Linked DNA regions of Homo sapiens: region 2 is linked to region 1. The links are contacts of gene promoters, found by promoter capture Hi-C in human tissues and cell types (Jung and others, 2019). All regions are on one chromosome and are shown on one strand. The core of a region is centred on a gene start or on the middle of the fragment in contact, and the rest is flanking DNA. Distances in the headings are between cores, read along the strand shown.

Region 1 (6,285 bases), core at 867-3,366:
CTATACCCATTAAACCAGGAGTCCCCAACCCCCATGTCTGTAGACTAGTACGGGTCCATGGCCTGTTAGGAACTGGGCCACACAACAGTGAGCGATGGACCAGCCACGCATTGCTGTTTGAGCTCCGCCTCCTGTCAGATCGGCAGCAGCATTAGATTCTCATAGGAGCGCAAACCTTATTGTGAACTGTGCGTGCGAGGGATCTAGGTTGCACGCTCCTTATGAGAATCTAACTAATGCCTAATGATCTGAGGTGGAACAGTTTCATCCCGTAACTATCACCCCCCTACTCCCCGACCCCACACCACCCGCTCTGTGGAAAAATGGTCTTCCGGTCCCTGGTGCCAAAAACCACCAGGGGACCGCAGCATTAAACAACAAATCCCCATTGCCTGCCTCCCTCCAGGCCCTGGTAATCACCATTCCACTTTCAACACTGGCATATTTTTATTTTATATATTTATTAACAAACATGTATATAGCAATTACTATATGCCAGGTACGGTTCTAAGCCTTGAGCTCAGGAGTTCAAGACCAGCCTGGGCAACATGGCGAAACCCTGTCTCTACCAAATGTACAAAAATTAGCCAGGCGTGGTGGCTTGTGCCTATGGTTCCAGCCACAAGGGAGGCTGAGGTGGAAGGATCGCTTGAGTCCAGGAAGTCGAGACTGCAGTGAGCCATGATCACGCCACTGTACTCCAGCCCGAATGACAGAGTAAGACCCTGTCTCAAAATAAAATAAAATAAAATAAAATAAAATAAAATAAAATAACAATAATAAAAACCCTAATGAGGTCAATACTATTATTATTCCCATTCTACAGATTAGGAAACAGAAGCGCTAAGTAAACTGCCCAAGATTACACAACTAGGAAGTGACCAAGCAGGAATTCAAACTGAAGTAGTCTGGCTTTATAGTTTTTGCTATAAACCATGACATTGTAAAAATATTCATTGTAAAGAAAAACTCATCAGGAATTAGTATCATTTCTTCTATGTATATCTATCTATTGTAGGTGCAATTTAACCTAATATTCATCTCCTGTCTAAAAGACTATGTGACCAAGGTTACAAATGTCTACTGATATTTTTAGAGACTAGATATATAGCCCAGCTTTTGTTAAGGCATTTTCTTGAAGTCAGTCAGTCAAAAACTGCCTTGTATTTTAAGTATGCCAATTATAATTTACATGTAGTATTTTATAATAAAATACTTTATAAATACAAATCACAACTCACTACGATTACTTAAAATATAGAGAAAAAAATTCAGCTGTTTCTCTCTGGTCCCTTCCAAGGAAGAAAAAAGAAGAGAGAAATAAACTTCTAAATAAGTTTACAACAGCATGGCTCAATCTCAGTTTAACCTGGTAAATTCAAATTTGTCTTGCTTTGCAAGGTATACATCCAGACCAGTCTCAATTTGTCATCCAAATATATATCTCAGTAGTAATTTATTTTTGTTTAAGGGATGAGTGTGAGATTTTCTTATCTTGATTTTTTAGCTTAATAATTCTTTCCTACAAGACCAAACCATGCTTGTCATCAGTCATGTGGTGTCATTTACTATACATTAAAAACGGACAGAGTCGACAGAAAGAACAATCGTTTTCTGGAAGCCCCAGCCTGATGTAGGTTAAAAGCTCTGCTGGGGTTTGGTTTTATAATCCCCAGGCGGGGATGGCAGGGATACTAATAACGCACTCAACAAGATCACCTACTATTTCAACTACTTTCTCCTCCTATTACATACCTGATTCACAAAAATAAGCAGACAATGCATCATGTAATCTCCCCTCACCCATTAGCCATTGCAGTGTGGTACAATCTCCAGCACGTAATAAAAACCTGAGCATGCAAGAAACAGCAAAATCACTGCTATCCCTGGGAGCTGCTCGGATATTTACAATGCAGTCGTCCCCACCCCATCCCCCAAACTGGCCGGCCAGGCAGCACAGAAGCAGACGGATGCTCACCTGGGCCCCGGCTGCTACTCTCCATTCACCTGCGGGGCCTTCAGTCCGCTCCTGGAGGGGCTTGACTCCCGCAGCCTGCCGCCCGCCTCACGGTGACAGCCCGCCCGGGCGCTGACCATCCCGGCCCGGCTCTGTTTACAAGCGGCTTCTCGCGGTCCCACTCTGAAATGCTTCCGCCGGCGGCCCGGGCAGCCAGAGCCGGACACACAAGGTTCCAGGCCGCGAGGACGAGTCTTTCCTGCCCGAGGGACCCGGCAGCTAGGCAAGGCCTGACCGCACCCGCCAGGCCTCCTTATTTCTTTGCTTTCTTATATACAGTTCCTCTTGTACACATTGTGAAAGCAATGGCGTGTGTCGTGGAGTCTCCTCACTGCTCCACCCAACGCCAAAATGGGTGTTTGCGATTGGAAAATGTCACTTAGAACATGTCAGGATCGGGCTGGTTTTTAGCAGCTCCCTTGTCTAAGGGAATTAATTACTCAAATAAGTTCTTTCCAAAAGTGGGACTATTCTGGAGATTGCTTCTCATTTCCGGTTTTGGGGCTGCAGTGAAAATCCGTTTTCACTGTCCTTTCCTACGCAGGTTGAAAAGGGGTGGTTTTGAGGTGAGGTCTTCACCCCCACTTGCGGATTCCCAGCAAAATAGGGTGTGCGTGTGTGTGCACGCGGGCAGGACTGCCTGGTAAGACCGCCCACATCCCACCTGCAGTGACTGTGGTCGCTTTGCAGGGATATGCTGGTCTGATTGGACAGACCTTCCTTGCAGTTTCCTGTCTGTTTTCCATCATAGCACACTTCTTAGCCATTTTCTCACTTTATAAGTACACACTTATTTATCAGTTTTATTGGTTTTCCCACGCTCACCCATCTCACCTATAAACTCCCTGAGGGCAGGCACTATTTCAGTTTCACTCACCACCATCTAGTAGGCACCTAGCACAGGCCCAATGTATATATATCTGAATAAATGAATGAACAAAGGAATGATAAAAAAAAAAAAAGGTCAAAGGGGTCAGGGATGAAACAGAAATCTAAAACTCTGATTCCTCTTCCCACCTTCCCACCCTCCAGAAGATTAATAAGCAAATCTTTAAGCTTTGAGTTAAGAAAAAATTTCCTTTGGTTGATATTCAAAGTTTAAATAAGCTTTCTTTAAACCCTGCAATTTGAGGTACTTTTTTTTCTGTTTTGCTAGAGACAGGATCTCACTCTGTGCCCCGGCCAGAGTGCAGTCGCACGATCATAGCTCACTGCAGCCCTGAACTCCTGGGTTCAAGGGATCCCCCCAACTCAGCCTCCTGAGTAGCTAGGACTACAGGCACGCATCACCACAACGTGGCTAACTTCTTTTTTCTTTCTTTCTCTTTTTTTTTTTTTTGTAAAGGCAAGGTCTCCCTGTGTTGCCCAGGATGATCCTGAACTCCTGGCCTCAGGCAATCCTTCTTCCTTGCCTTCCAAAGTGCTGGGATTACAGGTGTGAGCCACCTCACCTGGCCAGAGGTACATTTTTTGTTTTGTTTTGTTTTAATTACCAAAAGAGAATATTTGCAGTATTCTCTTTTGCCTCAGGACTTTGTACATGTGATTCCCTCTGATGAGAGTTCTCACTCCTGGCCCATCCTCTTACTTAGGCTGGCTAATTTCTCTTTGCTCTTTAAGAAGCAGGTAACAGGTGCTTGGTCTCTCAAGTCACTTGCTTGGTCTTCTTCCAAGTGTTCTTTTCTTCTTTTCCTTCCCTTCATTACTACTCTAAAGCTTTTTAATAAACTTTCACTCTAAAAAAAAAAAAAAAAAAGGCCGGGTGTGGTAGCTCGTGCCTGTAATCCACGCACTTAGGGAGGCCAAGGCGGGTGGATCGCTGGAGGCCAGCGGTTCGAGACCAGACTGACCAACATGATAAAACCTCATCTCTACTAAAAATACAAAAATTAGCAGAGCATGGCGGTGCACGCCTGTAATCCCAGCACTTTGGGAGGTCGAGGCGGGTGGATTGATTGAGGCCAGCAGTTCGAGACCAGCCTGGGCAACATAGTGAAACCCTGTCTCTACTAAAACGAAAATTAGCCAGGCATGGTGGCACACGACCTGTAATCCCAGCTACTTAGGAGGCTGAGGCACTAGAATCGTTTGGACTCAGGAGACGCAGGTTGCAGTGAGCTGATATTGAGCCAGTGCACTCCAGCCTGTGCAAAAGAGCGAGACGCTGTCTCAAAAAAAAAAAAAAAGCAGATGACATCACACCTCTTCTGGAAACCTTGCCTGATAGGGGAACCTGCTCCTTTTATGCACTCCTAGAGGATCTCATGTGTTCCTTTATAAATGTACCCATTACATTGTGCTACACAGATCAGTCTTCCATTGGATTGGTGGTTCTCAAAATTCACATGGAACAGAATCTTCTAGGATGGTGTTTCTCAAACTTTAACGGGTAAGAATTCTGTCAAAATGCAGAATCTGATACAGTAAGTCTGGGATGGGGCCTCTCCAACAGTCATGATCTCCTAAGTGATGCTGCATTTTGAGTGTCAAGGTTCTTGAATGCTGTTAAAAATGCAGATTCCTAGGCCGGGTGTGGTGGCTCATGCCTGTAATCCCAGTACTTTGGGAGGCTGAGGCGGCCGGATCACCTGAGGTCAGGAGTTTGAGACCAGCCTGGCCAACATGGCGAAACACTGTCTCTACGAAAAATACAAAAAATTACCCGGATGTGGTGGCTGGTGCCTGTAGTCCAAGCTACTTGGGAGGCTGAGGCAGGAGAATTGCTTGAACCCAGGAGGCAAAGGTTGCAGTGAGCCGAGATCATGCCATTGCACTCCAGCCTGGGCGACAGAGTGAGACTCCATCTCAAAAAAAAAAACAAAAACAAAAACAAAAAACAAAAAAACCCCCGCAGATTCCTGGATCACACATTCACAGATTTTTATTCTGAAGATCTACCTACATTAGGGTCCTGAATTCCATAATTTCTACAAGGTCCTCAGTGCTTCCCAAGTTGGTGATCCATGGACCATCCTTTGAGAAAAACTCTTTCAGACTAGTCTTGAAGTCTGATGTCAGGAGTTTGTGATTTGTCATTGTTTTTCATGGATTAAGCATGAAGTCTGGGACATAAAATGCATTTAAAAAACTGCTTTTGGCCTGGCACAGTGGCTTACGCCTGAAATTCCAGCACTTTGGGAGGCCAAGGCAGGCGGATCCCTTGAGGACAGGAGTTCAAGACCAGCCTGGCCAACATGACAAAACTCTGTCTCTACTAAAAAATACAAAAATTAGCCGGGTGTCATGGCACACATCTGTAATCCCAGCTACTCGGAGGCTGAGGCAGAGAATCACTTGAACCTGGGAGGCGGAGGCTGCAGTGAGCTGAGATCATGCCACTGCACTCCAGCCTGGGAGATAGAGCAAGACTCCATCTCAAAAAAAAAAAAAAAACAAAAAAAGCTGTGTTTGCAAAATGACTGATTTTATTCACTCTCACTAATACAGATCCTCAGCACCAGAATTAAGGGGATGATCCCAGAAAAAGGCTGAAAGATTTAGGGCTGAGAATAATCTCAGCTAGGCAGCCACTGGCTCATGGACCTCTGTATGTCAGCTAGGAGCTCTATATGTCAGCTAGGCCTCTGTATGTCAGCTAGGAACATTTTGCCTCTCTAAATGTAAAATATTTAAGTTCATATCTCCATTCAAAAGGTTGTCTGCTAAAAGCAGCTCCATCATCTTCTTTTGCCTTTTTTTTCTTTTTTTGAGATGGAGTCTGGCTCTGTTGCCCAGGCTGGAGTACAGTGGCGCAATCTCGGCTCACTGCAACCTCCGCCTCCTGGGTTCAAGTGATTCTCCTGCCTCAGCCTCCTGAGTAGCTGGGACTACAAGCATTTGCCACCACACCCAGCTAATTTTTGTATTTTTAGTAGAGACGGGGTTTCACTATGTTGGCCAGGATGGTCTCCATCTCTTGACCTTGTGATCTGCCCGCCTTGGTCTCCCATAGTGCTGGAATTACAGGCGTGAGCCACCGCACCCGGCCTTCTTTTGTCTTTTAGAGCAATTTTGGATTCACAGGAAAATTGAGCAGAAAGTACAGACTTCCCATATATCCCCTGCTCCTCAAACCCACAACCTCTCCCACTATCAATCCTGCACCACAGTGGTACACTTATTACAATCAATGAAACTGCACTGACAGACACATCATTACCACCCATGTAATGTAAAGTTCATAGTTTACATTAGGGGAACCATTTTTTTGACTTCTTTATACCCTAACATTCAGGAAGGCCTCTCTTTCCATTATCGGAATGATTTTT
Region 2 (6,293 bases), core at 1,276-3,775, 370 kb before region 1:
ACCCACCTCGGCCTCCCAAAGTGCTGGGATTACAGGTGTGAGCCACCACACCCGGCCTCAGTAAGTTGATTTTTATGACTATGAATGGGTCCCCCAAAACAGGTCTAAATCATAATTAGTCTACTTGCTATGAGAAATTATGTGTTTGGCTTTTTGTTTAAGGAAAAAGCAAAAAAAAAAAATTGGAAAAATTCTCAAAAATGAATGTTCATCAGCATTTTTATGGGAAACAATCTGATGGAACAGGAGGCCAGCCAGGTAAATCATACAATCCAAGCAGAAAGAAATCATGGGAACATGTCTCTGAATGGAGAGAGAAAAGTGGCTCCACAGGGAGCTTGCTTATTGAGATGTAGGACAAATAAAGTGGGTGAAAGAGGTTAAAAAAAAGAAGCACTCTGAGAGGAGATTGAAGTGTAACTTTAATACACAAAAGAAAAGCTGTATTCCACACTTCTGATCACCTCCCCTTTCTTACTCTTCAGGCTTTAAATTCTGACTTTCTAATACCTCATTCGATCATATTGAATTAGCCTGAAGTTTGATTTGGAGGGCTGGTGACCCAGTCTCATTTTGGCCTGATGACATTTTGGGCTTGGGACTATCTCCCTTTTTTAGTACTTAGCTCAACTGCAGAAATAATACCAGCAATAATAATATCATCCCCTTACCATGCAACTCTAATTGAAATGTGAATGGATGTGCTATTGGCCAAGGGCCCCTGTCCACTAATTATGTATCATCTGAAAATCTGACCCAAGTATCTGGCAATCAAAGAGGGATAGCTTTCATCCTGCTGTTACCTGTTCACAGTTATGCCATCTGGCTCTTATACCCAGAAGAAAACTTGGCATCCGTATTCAACCAGAATGACCGTCAATTCTCAAAACATCTTATTTTCTCTTTGCCAAGAACCAAGTGACAACTGATCTCAAAGTGTAAGCACTTAACCTATAAAACAAATGACTTGGGGGAAGAGGCATTTTTCTCAATGAAAAATAGGGTTGAGAGAGTATTTTTGTGTCATCAGACATCTCAAACTATGTTTTAATAGTATAACCTAATTTATATTTCCTTTGTGTTTGTCTCTGATTTTTCAGTTCATTTTAATAAATACTTTTTGAGCACCTGCCATATGAAATGAAATGAGCCAAGCACTAAAAGGATACCAAGTTGTAATAGTCAAGGAAATGGCTCTAGCTCTGTAGGAATAAAACATCAGATTTCAGGCCGGGCACGGTGGCTCATGCCTGTAATCCCAGCACTCTGGGAGGCCGAGGAGGGCAGATCACCTGAGGTCGGGAGTTCGAGATCAGCCTGACCAACATGGAGAAACCCTGTCTCTATTAAAAATACAAAATTAGGCCGGGCACGGTGGCTCACGCCTGTAATCCCAGCACTTTGGGAGGCCGAGGTGGGCAGATCACGAGTTCAGGAGATTGAGACCATCCTGGCTAACACGGTGAAACCCCGTCTCTACTAAAAATACAAAAAAAAAAAAAATTAGCAGGGCATGGTGGCAGGCACCTGTAGTCCCAGCTACTCAGGAGGCTGAGGCAGGAGAATGGCGTGAACCCAGGAGGCGGAGCTTGCAGTGAGCCGAGATAGCGCCACTGCACCCCAGCCTGGGCGACAAAGCAAGACTCCAACTCCAAAAACAAACAAACAAACTCCTAGAAGAAAATATAGGAGAAAAACCTAGATACGCTCAGGTATGGTGATGACTTTTTAAATACAACATCAAAGGCATGATCCATGAAAGAAATAATAAATAAGCTGGACTTCATTCAAATTAAAAACTTCTGCTCTGTGAAAGAATATGTCAAGAGAATGAGAAGGTAAGCCACAGACTAGGACAAAATATCTTCAAAAGATATATTAAGATTATTACCTAAGATACAAAGAATTTTTTTTTTTTGAGACGGAGTCCTGCTCTGTTGCCAAACTGGTATGTAGTGGCACGATCTCGGCTCACTGCAACCTCTGCCTCCTGGGTTCAGGTGATTCTCCTGCCTCAGCCTCCCGAGTAACTGAGATTACAGGCACACGTCACCACGCCTGGATAATTTTTGTATTTTTAGTAGAGATGGGGTTTCGCCATGTTGGCCAGGCTGGTCTTGAACTCTTGATGTCAGGTGATCCACCCACCTCGGCCTCCCAAAGTGCTGGGATTACAGGCATGAGTCACTGCACCGAGACCAAAGAATTCTTAAAACTCAACAATAAGAAAAAAAACAACTTGATTTAAAAATTGGCCAAACACCTTAACAGACGCCTCACCAAACAGGTTGTAGATGGCAAATAAGCATATGACGAAATACTCCACATCATATGTCATCAAGGGAAAGCAAATTCAAACAGACACCACCTCACACCTATTAGAGTGACCAGAATTCAGAACACTGACAACAAATGCTGGTGAGGACATAGAGCAACAGGAGCTGTTGCTGGTGGGAATGCAAAAATGGTGCAACTAGTTTGGAAGACCATTTGGGAGTTTCTTACAAAACTAAACATACTTTTACCACATGATCCAGCAATCATGCTCCTTGGTGTCTACCCAAAGGAGTTAAAAACTTATGTCCAGGGTGGGGAATGGTGGCTCACACCTGTAATCCTGGCACTTTCGGAGGCTGAGGTGGGACAATCACTTGAGCTCAGGAGTTTAAGACTAGTCTGGGCAACATAGTGAGACCTCGTCTCTACAAAAAATTTAAAAATTAGCTAGGCATGGTGGTGCATGCCTGTAGTCTCAGCTACTTGGGAGGCTGAGATGGGAGGATAACTTGACTCCGGGAAGTTGAGGCTGCAGTGAGCCATGACCACACCACTGCACTCCAGCCTGGGTGACAGAGCAAGACCCTGCCTCAAAAAACAAGAAAAGAAGGAGGAAAGGGAAGAGAATGGGAGGGGAGGGGAGGGGAGGGGAGGAGAGAGGGAGGATGGAGGCAGAGAGGAGCTGGGAAAGGAGGCAGAGAGGGAGGGAGAGGGGAGGCAGGGAGGGAAGGGAAGGAAAAGAAAAAAAAAAAAAGAGCTCTCAAGCCATAAAAAGTTATGAAGCGGCCAGGAACAGTGGCTCACGCTTGTAACCTCAACACTTTGGGAGGCCGAGGCGGGTGGATCACTTGAGGCCAGAAATTGGAGACCAGCCTGGGCAACATGGTGAAACTCTATCTCTACTAAAAATACAAAAATTAGCCAGGTTTGGTGGCATATGCTTGTAAACCCAGCTACTCAAGCGGCTGAGGCAAAGAATCGCTGAAAAACAGGAGGCGGAGGTTGCAGTGAGCCGAGATCGCATCACTGCATTGCAGTCTGGGCAGCAAAGTGAGGCTGTCTCAAAAAAAAAGTTACGAAGAAAACTTAAATGCATATTACTAAGCGAAAGAATCCAATCCAAAAAAGGCTGCTTACTGCATGACATTTTGGAAAAGGCAAAACTATGGAGACAGTAAAAATATCGGTGGTTGCTAAGGGTTGGAGCCTGGGGTTAGTGCAGTGAAAATACTCTGCATGATACTGTCATGGTGGATACATTTCACTATACATTTGTGCAAACCCGTAGGATGAATAACACCGAGAGCACTAATATAAACTATGGGCTTTGGGGGATATGATGTGTCAGTATGGCGTCATCAGTTGTAACGAGTGCACCCCTCTGGTGCAGGATGTTGATAATGGTAAAGGTTATGCATCTGTGGGGACAAGTATATGAGGTATCTGTTTACCTTCCTCTCCATGTTGCTGTGAACCTAAAACTGATCTTGAAAAAAAAAATCTTGGCCAGGCGCAGTGGCTCACGCCTGTAATCCTAGCACTTTGGGAGGCCAAGGTGAGCTGATCACCTGAGGTTGGGAGTTCGAGACCAGCCTGACCAACAATGGAGAAACCCTGTCTCAACTAAAAATACAAAATTAGCCAGGTGTGGTGGCACATGCCTGTAATCCCAGCTACTCGGGAGGCTGAGGCAGGAGAATGGCTTGAACCCGGGAGGCAGAGGTTATGGTGAGCCAAAATCGTGCTACTGCACTCCAGCCTGGGCGACAAGAGCGAAACTCTGCCTCAAAAAAAAAAAAAATTTTTTTTTTTTACTTTTACCATGTTAAACTCCTGAGAGCAAGATGGGTCACCAAGAACTGTACTGGAGCCACCCGCGAAAATTTGGCCGCGGTTCTCGCTCTTGTCGCGTCTGCTCAAACCAGCACGGTCTGATCCGGAAATACGGCCTCAATAAGTGCAGCCAGTGTTTCCGTCAGTATGTGAAGGATATCGGTTTCATTAAGTTGAACTAAATGATCTTCCTTCAAAGGATAATCCAAGGCATCTACCCAATGAAAAACCATGATGCTTTTTTGTACATAAAATAAACATTTATTTTTAAAAAATCTTTAATTAAAAAAAAAGAGAAAAGAAACTTCATCAGAGTAGAAAAGAGTTCATAGAAGAGGTGTATCATGGAGGAAGTAGCATTTGAAATGATCCTTGACAGAACTGCCAGACAGCCTTAGTAAGAGCAGCATTCCAGAAGGAGCAATGAGCACTAATAAAGCAATAGTGGTGGAGAGAGAATGTTGAGTAACTAGTTTTCCTCACAAAGTTTTGCATAGGGGAGAGATTAAGCTTTAAACGTGGGTTAGATCCCTGCTGTCTAAGGCCTTCGATGTCAGGGAGAGGTTTTTTTGTTTTGTTTTGTTTTTTGTTTTGTTTTTTTTGACACGGAGTCTTGCTCTGTCGCCCAGGCTGGAGTGCAGTGGTGCGATCTCGGCTCACTGCAAGCTCCGCCTCCTGGGTTCACGCCATTCTCCTGCCTCAGCCTCCTGAGTAGCTGGGACTACACAGGGAAAGAGTTTTAATTCCATTCCTCCATTATCATAATCATCATGCTTTTTCCTTTTTTTGGAGACGGAGTCTCACTCTGTCACCCAGGTTGGAGTGCAGTGGCACGATCTCGGCTCACTGAACCTCCGCCTTTTGGGTTCAAGCAATTCTCCTGCCTCAGCCTCCCGAGTAGCTGGGACTACAGGCGCATGCCACCATACCCAGCTAATTTTTTATTTTTAGTAGAGACAAGGTTTCACCGTGTTGGCCAGGCTGGGCCTGGAGTTCTCGAACTCCTGACCTCAGGTGATTCACCTGCCTCGGCCTCCCAAAGTGCTGGGATTACAGGTGTGAGCCACCATGTCCAGCCAGATCATCATGCATTTTTAACGTAAAGGCCCAAGAACAATTACACCATTAATTGTTGACAAGTAATGGCCCCAGACCAGAAAATACATTCAGTCAGAAAAGACTTCATTTTGCAGAGGGCAACACTAATGACAGCATCAAATTGCATTCATGGGCTATAACAGAGTCCAGAATTTTGCATTTGTTCCCATGTGTCTTAATGTTTATTAAATCCAATCCAAACATTTCCACTACACTCTTGCTCTACTTCTCCCCAGATTGTCTCATGTATTTATCTAGAGATCCCAGCGGTAGCCTTACACACCAACATCACAAACCATCTGTGCCTCCTCTCAGGTATGGAAAGGGAATCCTATCAGGCCTGGGAACTCTAAATACCAAAACCAAACACTGTATATTCCACAAATATGATTTCCTTTTCCTTCAGCAGACAGTGCAGTCACAGTATGAAGGTCAACAGTGGTGTACGATCCATACTAGGAATTTTACAGGCATAAATATTTATTTTTAAAATTTTAGGTGCAAAGTAACAGGAGGAGTACATACAGCAGCATTGGGACACCTTAGGAAGGTAGTAATTAAACTTTTTCTGAAGTTGCTCTGTAATTCTAGCATTCTGGGAATTATGCCTTTCATGTGTATTCCTCCAAATCAGTTGAGGTTCCAAAATATACCCAAGTAGAGTATTTGAGAAATTCTAGTTGCAGGTGGGATCTGACTGCTTTGCATTGTGCTATATACATCAATCTATTAATATTAGTTGTTCCCTTTTTGGAACACAGTAGGAAATAAACAGACAAATTAGCAAATAGCTTACAAGAGAGATGGTGGCTTCATGTCTTCTACAGAAGTCTTACTTGAGGCTCTACAACTTGCCTTTACTTATTCTTATTCTTTTGATTCTATTTAATATAATTCAGTCTTACAAAACTGTTTTTAAGCCATGCATGATATAAACTAGAACTTAGATATCTCGACTTCTTAATATTATATGCTTAATTTTATGTGCTCCATAAAATAATTATAAGGAAGCAATAATTTTCTTTCTTTCTTTTTTTTTTTTTTGAGCTGGAGTCTCACTGTGTCACCAGGCTGGAGTGCAGTGG

Evidence for each region. Contacts are between HindIII fragments. The study calls those that stand out against the background at their distance.
Region 2: a fragment that was not itself captured here is called in contact with the fragment with the promoter of PLEKHM3 in region 1 in 1 of the 25 tissues and cell types used here (spleen).

What each region holds. Positions count from the first base shown.
Region 1 is chr2:208,023,411-208,029,695 of GRCh38, forward strand. It overlaps PLEKHM3 (pleckstrin homology domain containing M3), which reads right to left and starts at 2,117. Exons shown (of 8, transcript NM_001080475.3): 1 at 1,979-2,117. The HindIII fragment of the contact is 4,894 bases long and covers 1-3,428 here.
Region 2 is chr2:207,650,660-207,656,952 of GRCh38, forward strand. It overlaps the pseudogene RPS29P9. Among named protein-coding and RNA genes, the nearest start is that of LINC01857, 8.6 kb to the right of the region's middle. The HindIII fragment of the contact is 8,714 bases long and covers 1-6,293 here.